2 separate regions of the Homo sapiens genome follow, and region 2 is linked to region 1. The links are contacts of gene promoters, found by promoter capture Hi-C in blood cells and fetal thymus (Javierre and others, 2016). All regions are on one chromosome and are shown on one strand. Each heading gives the region's core, a stretch centred on a gene start or on the middle of the fragment in contact. The rest is flanking DNA. Distances are from core to core; before and after follow the strand shown. Region 1 holds the start of MBD1 (methyl-CpG binding domain protein 1). Region 2 holds the start of TXNL1 (thioredoxin like 1).

The links. The method cuts DNA at HindIII sites, captures the fragments that hold promoters and counts their contacts. A CHiCAGO score of 5 or more calls a contact.
Region 2: a contact is called between a fragment that was not itself captured here and the fragment with the promoter of MBD1 in region 1, in 1 of 17 cell types (naive CD8 T cells). The highest score is 5.3, in naive CD8 T cells.

Annotation. Positions count from the first base shown.
Region 1 is chr18:50,279,361-50,283,280 of GRCh38, forward strand. It overlaps MBD1 (methyl-CpG binding domain protein 1), which reads right to left and starts at 2,163. Exons shown (of 17, transcript NM_015846.4): 1 at 2,003-2,163; 2 at 523-657. The coding sequence starts at 632. It overlaps CXXC1 (CXXC finger protein 1), which reads right to left. Exons shown (of 15, transcript NM_014593.4): 13 at 3,905-3,920; 14 at 3,494-3,646; 15 at 2,987-3,379. The coding sequence ends at 3,233. RefSeq lists silencers at 1,896-1,975, 1,986-2,095 and enhancers at 2,241-2,821, 2,822-3,402. The HindIII fragment of the contact is 20,722 bases long and covers 1-3,920 here.
Region 2 is chr18:56,634,457-56,638,651 of GRCh38, forward strand. TXNL1 (thioredoxin like 1) reads right to left here and starts at 4,136. Exons shown (of 8, transcript NM_004786.3): 1 at 3,887-4,136. The coding sequence starts at 3,984. RefSeq lists enhancers at 3,188-4,173, 3,955-4,014, 4,174-4,195 and a silencer at 4,165-4,195. The HindIII fragment of the contact is 1,142 bases long and covers 2,349-3,490 here.

The sequences.
Region 1 (3,920 bases), core at 913-3,412:
CTGATGCATAACATTGAACTTACAGCCAACAGCATTGTAACTCAGATAACCAGCAAAGTTTATCTGCCTTGTATTTTCTCCATAAAGCACGACATAGTCTTCTCACAGAACACTAAACAGCACCTCAGCACTATGCTTGGGGACCATTTTAAAAAGCAAAATCACCAAAAAGTACAAAAATTAGAAAAATGTGACACTAAACAGACCACGAAAAGGACACCTGTTTACAGTATTAAAGCTGAAAAGGGCTCCTTCAGCCTCAGCTAGAAATACATGCATTGAGTGACAGTTTTTCACTGCTCTGTACGTATTCTTGAATAATCACAAATGCACTGTGAGTAGTGACTTTTAAGTTACAAATAAATTTTATTAAGTAGGTGAAATTCAAACATAAAATCCGCTAATAAGGATTAACTGTATGTGCATAATTTAAACTTCATCCATAAATTTAACCACACCATTTGATTTTACCAGAATCAGGCTCTACCCCACTCCTGACTCTGCCCACTACCCACCCAGTACCTCTGGTAATAGGTGTCTGAGCGTCCACAGGTGGCCCCTGACTTGCGAAAGACTTCGCGGCGCTTCCAGCCAGGGCCCAGGGCCGGGCAGTCCAGCCAGTCCTCAGCCATGGAGGCCACAGGAAGCAGCAGTAGCCTGAAAGGGGGTGGAAGGGATGAGGGAAACTGAGGCTCTAGGAAGGGACAACACTGTGCCCCAGGCCACACAAATCACTGGTATCCATTAGTGCTTGCCCAAGCCCTAGGACCTGCCACAGGCAACCAGCCCATATATGGAAAAGAAACCCCTCATATTCTCACCCCATTCTTTCCTATTCTGGGCCTAGGATATCATCATTCCTCAACCCAAGGATCCCTGTTTCTTATTCTCAGTGTCCTAATCCCCTACTCCTCTCTATCCTCAGACTGACAACCCATCATTTCTCCTCACTGCCAATCCAGAAACTTTTCATCCTTCCCCCTCATTCCTCCCTGTCACTGACCTAAGGGCCTCTATCCCTCTATTTTATCACCCCAAGACCCCCATAGTCCCCATCCTCAGCCCCAAAGGGCCCCATTTCTCTTGCCCTCACTACTTGACTTCAGTAGTCTCTCATTCCCCCCTTCCTTGACCCAGGAGTTCCTAATTTCCCTCCTTCAGTGTTTTAACCACTCCATTCCTTCTCTGCCTGATGTCCTCTTATCCTGCTACCTCAGTGTTACAACCTCGACTTCCTCTGCGAGACACAACTGCTCCAACCCATAGCCTGAACAGCCCCTCATCTTTTCCATTCCTCACACTGGAAGCCTCCCATGCCTCCCCTTCCTCAGCCCAAGACCTCCCCCCTTATTTTTCTTCTCCTTCAATGTTCTCACCCACAATTTCTCCCTAGTCTGAGCTCCCAAACCTTCCTCTACAGCCAAAAAGTTCCCCACTTCTCCTCCTTACTGTTCTCATCCTCCATTCCTCCCTTATCATCCAGAGAGACCCTAATTTCTCCCCTCAGCATTCCGAACCCTCCTCCATTCTCTCTGTTCTTGTCCCGGGATCATGCCATCCCTAACTGTCACCATTCTGATCCCCTACTGCTCCTCGTCCTCTATATGGGGCCTCCTATTCCTCCCTTTCAGCATTCCAAAGCCTCTATTTCTCCTGTCATCAGCCTGAGGGCCCCTCATTTCTCCCTCTCAGAGTTCTGAACCCCCATTTCTCTCTCAACTTCAGATGCCCCGATGTCTCCCTTTAGCGTTCTGATCTCCACCATTCCTCTCCGTCCTCGTCCCAGGATCCCGACACTCCTACCTGTCAGAGTTCAGAGCTGCATTCCTTCCCGTCCTCAGCCTAAATCCCCCCATTTCTCCTCGTCAGTATTCCGACGCCGCCATTCCTCCCCCTTATCGGCCTGAGGGCCCTTCATTCCTCCCCGTCAGCGTTCTGAGCCACAATTCCTTCCCATCCTCCGCCTGAGCGCTCTCCACGTCCAGCCCCAAGGCTGTCTCACCAGTTTGGCACCAGGCCGGTATCTTCCGCCACTCTAGGCCCGTGGACCCATGGCGAGGGTCCCTCCTGCACCTCCCGCCTCGCCCTCCTCCCCTTCCTCCTCCTCCGCGGCCGCCTCCTCTGAAGCGGTAGCTGTCGCCTCCGCGGCTGTTCGTTGCTCCCGGAACCGGAAGTCCGCTGCCTGCCTCTCGGGCTCCGCCTCTGGCTAAGCACCTGCGCACTATTGCCTCGATGTCGCGTGCCCTTAATAGGGAGGCTCCCGCGCCTACGGGCCGGCGCTCCGCAGCGGTGCGCGCGCCCCCCTGCCGAGAGCCAGTTGCATCTGCGTGCTGACGTTCAACGACAGCTAACCCCTTCGAGGGACTGGCAGTTGCGGCTCTCCTCGCTGCCCATCTAGCTGGCGCATGCGCTTTCCAGCCTCAACCTGAAGGGAAGCGGTCGGGGAGGGCTTGCGCCTGCGCCCTCCCTTCCCTCCCGCGGTCTCCACAGCCGATACCGAACGCGGCAAGGAAGCTGCTTCGCGCCTGCGCACTCCCTGGCCCTGCCGGCGCTCTCCTCTCCCACCTCTCGCTGGGGTCTATCCTGTGTTCGTGGGTCCCTCCGAACATCAACCCCAGGGGGGGTCGTGTCCCGCTCCCTCCTCCCCGCCGAACAGCTGTGGGAGCGCGCGGGGCGGGGAAAGGGGCGGTGCCACACCGCAGGTAAACTGAGGCACGCGGGAGGGCGCGCCCCTGCAGGAGGCGGATCCCCAACGTGGGGCTTGTGGGGAAAAGGCGGGGCCTGGCGTCCACAGCGGACGACAGCTCTGGGTGGGAGACAGGAGCATGCATGGGCGGTGTCACCACACTGAAGGCGCGCTGCGTAGACCCTCTGCCCGTGGGAGGCTGGGAATGTGGGTCCCTGGGCTCTCGCGGGGTGCAGGCGCCCCCCATCTTATCCAGAAGTCTGGAACAGTTGCAACCGCAGCAATGTGGAGACAGCTTCCTTGGTTTCTTCAAAATTTTATTAACAAAACCCAGGGAGAGGAGGCAAGGATGAGTGGACTCCGCAGCCCCACCAGGCACTGAACATGTCGACGGGGACAGTCCCTCTGATAAAGGCAGATGGGCGGTCAACCGGTGGATGGGCACAGGGAGAACCGGAGAAACAGATGAGTGGAGGAACGGACACACGGGCACCGGGCGGCTCCCCCATCTGGAATGCAGGGTGTAAGGGGTCCGGGCCAGGAGGCTCAGCGGTCGGCACTGGAGCGCAGGTCGGTAGTGAGGGGATCGTGCTGGATCGTCTGGTGCAGCATCAGGGCCAGCAATCCCGCGCGGTTTGTCATGGCTGTGCGCACATTGCGCTCCTGCTCAAACAGCTCGTCCAGCTTGTACCACTGCCAAGGGAGCGGCAGGAGTCCTAAGCAGGAACACCTGCAGCCCCGCCTGCCCCGGCCACGTCCGACATGGAAACCTACCACATGCAGCACCAAAACCGCACAGAAACCTACCACACGCACGCGCTCCAAGTCCACTTCCGCACGCCGCAGCTTCTCCCAGCAGTAATGGCGATTGCACTGGCGCTTGGGCAGGCGGCAGAAGTCACCCGTGAGCTCAAAGACATCACGTACAAGGGGGCACCCGCATACCTCGTCAGCTGGCACCTGCAAGGAGGCCAGGTTGGGGGGATGAATAGCGGTGATAAGGGAGAATAGGAATGGGGGCTCAAGGAGGGAGAAGGAAAAGAATGGAGGGTTCAGGGAACGGTGAGGAGGCATGGAAAAGGAGGAATGGAGGGTGAAGCAGCAGGGAAGCTGAGAGGAAAAAGTGAAGGAAAAGTGAGGTGAGGAAGGAAGGGATGAATGTGGGACAGCGAGGCAGGGAGGAGGGGCAAAATGGGAGGAGCTGAGGGAAAACCTTACTTTGGGGTCCCGTGAG
Region 2 (4,195 bases), core at 1,670-4,169, 6.4 Mb after region 1:
TAAGAGCTTAAACAAGTTCCTTACACAGACTAAGGAATATGTAAGCGTTGACTATTTTAATCCTTAAAAAATACTCTGGGAAAAGGGTGCTGATCATTCAATGAGGAAAAGACAGTGTTTTCGATAAACGGTGTTGGAAAAATTGGATATCCACATGCCAAAAAATGAACTGGACCCTAACTTTATGACATATACCAAAATTAACTCAAAATGGATCAAGGACCTAAACTTAAGAGCTAAAACTATAAAACTCTTAGATGAAAACATAGGGAGAAATCTTCATGACATTGAATCTTGCAATGATTTCTTGAATATGACACCAAAAGCACAGGCAACAAAAGTATAGATAAATTGGACTTCATCAAAATTTAAAACTCATGCATCAAAGGACACCATCAAGAAAAAGACAACCCAAAGAATGGGACAAAGTATTTGCAAATTAAATATTAACATCCGGCATATATAAAGAACTCCTGCAACTCAACCCAAAAACAAACCACTCAATTCAAAAATGGGCACAGAAGGCCCAGCGCAGTGACTCACACCTGTAACCCCAGCAATTTGGGATGCTGACGTGGGAGGGTCGCTTGAAGCCAGGATTTAGACCAGCCTGGGCAACAAAGTGAGACTTAGTCTCTAAAACAAAAAATAAATTAGCGGGCATGGTGGTATGTGTCTGTAGTCCCATTTACTTGAGAGGCTGATGTGGGAGGATTGCTTGAGGCCAGGAATTCAATGCTGCAGTGAGCCATCGTCTCAAAACTGCACTCCAGCCTGGGCAACAGAGCAAGACCCTGTCTCTAACAAATAAGAAAAAAGAAAAGCAAGCAAGTAAGCAGGGATCCCCGCATAGCAATGTCCCCTAGCAGCATTATCCACAACAGCCAAAGGAAGACACAACTGGAATGTCCATCAAAAAATGAACAGGTATACAAAATTTGCCATATAAATAAATGGATTATGTTATGCAGTTATAAAGAAGAATGAAATTCTGAGACATACTAAGACATGGATGAACCTTGAAAATACTATGCTAAGTGAAGTCAAAAACAAAAGGACAAATATTGTTACGATTTCACTTATATTAGGTGCCACAAATTGACAAATTCATAGAGACAGAAAGCAGAATAGAAGTTACCAAGGAGGTAGATGGGGAGGGGCAAATTACTGCTTAATGGGTACAGTTTTGTCCCTTTGGAGAAGTAAGGATGGGGAGTTATCCTTTAATGGATATAGAATTTCTGTCTAAAGTTATAGGAAACAGTGGTGATGGTGGCACAACATTGTGACTGTATAGTCATGTCTGGGTATCTGGGGGATTAGTTTCAGGACCTCCAGCAAGACACTAAATCACAGATGCTCAAGGGCCTAATAGAAAATGACATGGTATCTGCACATAACCTACGACCATTCTCCCATATACTTTAAATCATCTCTAGATTACTTATAATGCCTAAGGTAAATGCTATGTAAATAGTTGTTATACTGTATTGTTTAGAAAATAATGACAAGAAAAAAGTGTGTACATGATCAGCACAAATGCAATTTTTTTTCTCCAAATATTTTCTATCCACATTTGGTTCAATCCATGGATACAGAGGGCTGACTGTCCTTAATGCCAATGAATTATACTCTTACAAATGGCTAAATGGTCAATTTTATGTTATATATATTTTATCATAAGCCACTAAAGATTCTTACACAGGAGAACAATCTATGTATCATTTTAGTAAAATTTAGACTGAGAGTGCATAAAGCATAGAGGTTAAAAAAAAAGAAAAAAGGTTTAAAATAGGGTTGGAAAGGAAATGAAATAGGTGCTGGAGAAACTATGCCCTCAGTCTAAACTGGGACAGCATTAACTTTGATCTAAGAGGATTCTTACAAGATTTTACTGAATACAGTTGTTTCTGAGTCTAATACTGACCCGTCATATACATAATTCTGGGGTTCTATTGACAATGAGTTTAGACAGGATGTATTAATGGCCAATAAGTTCGAGGAATATTAAAGGTAAATACAATAATCTTACCAGATTTGTAAACGTAATATAAATATGCTTTTGAACTTACTCTAAATCCAAACATTAATTTTCCCTCGGTTTTTACAAAGAAAAAAAATTTTAATTCCACTAAAATACCTTTTTAAATGTAACAGTTCCTTACCAATCAATGTCTGCAGTTATGCTTATGCTTAAGTGACACCACACTGATAGAAAAAACCTTCCTTCGCAGCAATGTTTCCCCAGTTTTCTCACTTCAATCAATATTTATTTATTATTTTATTATCTCTCCCACTGCTATGGTAAGGGAGAAAAACAATATATCATTGAGGGACAAAAATATAAAAGCTTCGACGGGCCAGAATTAGAATAAGTGAACTAAAAGTGAGGTGAGGTTCCTTATTGAAATCCTATCTTCCCTTTTCTACTGTGGCCTAGATACTTAATGTACTACAGGTATTCCCCTATTATTAAGAATACAGACATCACAAAATTGCTAAAAATGAGAAGACACATTTATAGAATTCTAACATTCCTTTTAGGTGTTTTATATATATGACATCACTTATCCTTTTAAATTTAGTAAATGCAAAATTCCGTATATCATATGGGTACTCTAGCCCACCATATGAAATGCAAGGTACTATCCTTTTTCAATTCAGTGTAAGAGAGACTGGTCCAAAAATAAGTCTTAACTTGTTTTCATATCTATCTGCATCCATTCCCTAAAACGATATAATCCTAATGCCACCATTTATATACTCAACATTTAGTGAACCATCTAGTAGAAACTTTGTTTTTTGCTCTGAAATTCAAAATGGAATTTTGTGTTTATACAGTTATTTGGACAAGAAAGTGTGTTACATAAACAGTGATACCAGCAGTAGACTGCTCCAAGTTAGATGTATAAATAACGCCAAGGGGTCAAGGAAAATAAAGCGGAAACCTCTCATACTTCTAACTAAATACTATCGACATACACAAGGAGAGATCTGTGAAACACACACACACGCTGAAATCTTGGTTCTCAACGCCGAGTTCCAACATGTCATTCTTACAAAGGAACTTTACTACACATCCACTATAAAAGGTCCACCTTTTCTACGACCTATAATTTTGTTGATATTTACCAAAGACAGTTAACATTTTTCAAGATCCCTGTCCTCTTAAGTGAAAAAACAGAGCCGGGTCAAACTAAGACATCCGGCCAACTGTCCACCTGAAATATATTATATATGTACTGTCGTGTGTGACCAGTTGCAATCGCATACATAGGGGAGCCTAAGCTACAAGTTAGTGGCCGAACGAGGAAGAAAAAAGTTCAAATAATTTAAAAAGCACCCTAACCCAACGTTAACTTAGTTCGAAATGCATTAGCAGAAATTCAGGACTCAGAGCTACGCATATTAGTTAGATCGCCCCATCTGAATCTTCAAAGGCTTTAGAGAGATGTAGGTGGTGAAGAGAAACAAAGTGTTCGGTAAATTAAGCTTTTGGAGCTCTGGAGATGCAAATGACAGCTGGCTCTGCAGAAAGAAGGGGTCAGGCTCAGGCAAGGGTGGCTGCGGAGACTCCCACAGGCTGGAAGGAATAGGGGCGGGCCACCCCCAAAACCAGTTTGTCAAAGAATTGAAAAGGAGCAGGTGAGAAATCTCCTGAGCTGGAGAAGCCGGCCAGCCAGGCCCCCGAGCCCGTCTAGGAACCCCTGTGCATAAATGGGGGTTCACACCCGAGAAACGAGGCCTAATTCCGGCAGCTCCTGGGGCTGCGGCGACTGCCGGACACTCCGGGGCAGCAGACGGCTAGGAAACCAGGGCCAACAAAGAGTGAAAGGAAAGCAAGGAAGGACAGACGGGGACCCACAGAGCTCGAGCCTGGCCTCACCCTCTCATGGTGAACTTGACCACGGCGAGTCTGGAGCCCGCGCCGCTCAGCTCTGGCTGGAAATCCGGGTCGCTCCCGACGGGCTTCACCCCCACCATCCTCACAGAGAGCCCGGCAGGGTGGCCGCGACGCCACTGGCTTTGAAACTGAAGGAGAAGACGATCTGGGAGAGGAAGGAGAGATGCTCAGGAAGGCCGAGGCCTGGACAGAAGAGGTGGCGACCGCCGAGTCTTCTCCCGGGACTCTCAGTGCCGAGTCACGCCAGGGAGCGGAGCGGCCGAGGGGGCGGGGAGGGATGGGGGAGGGGAG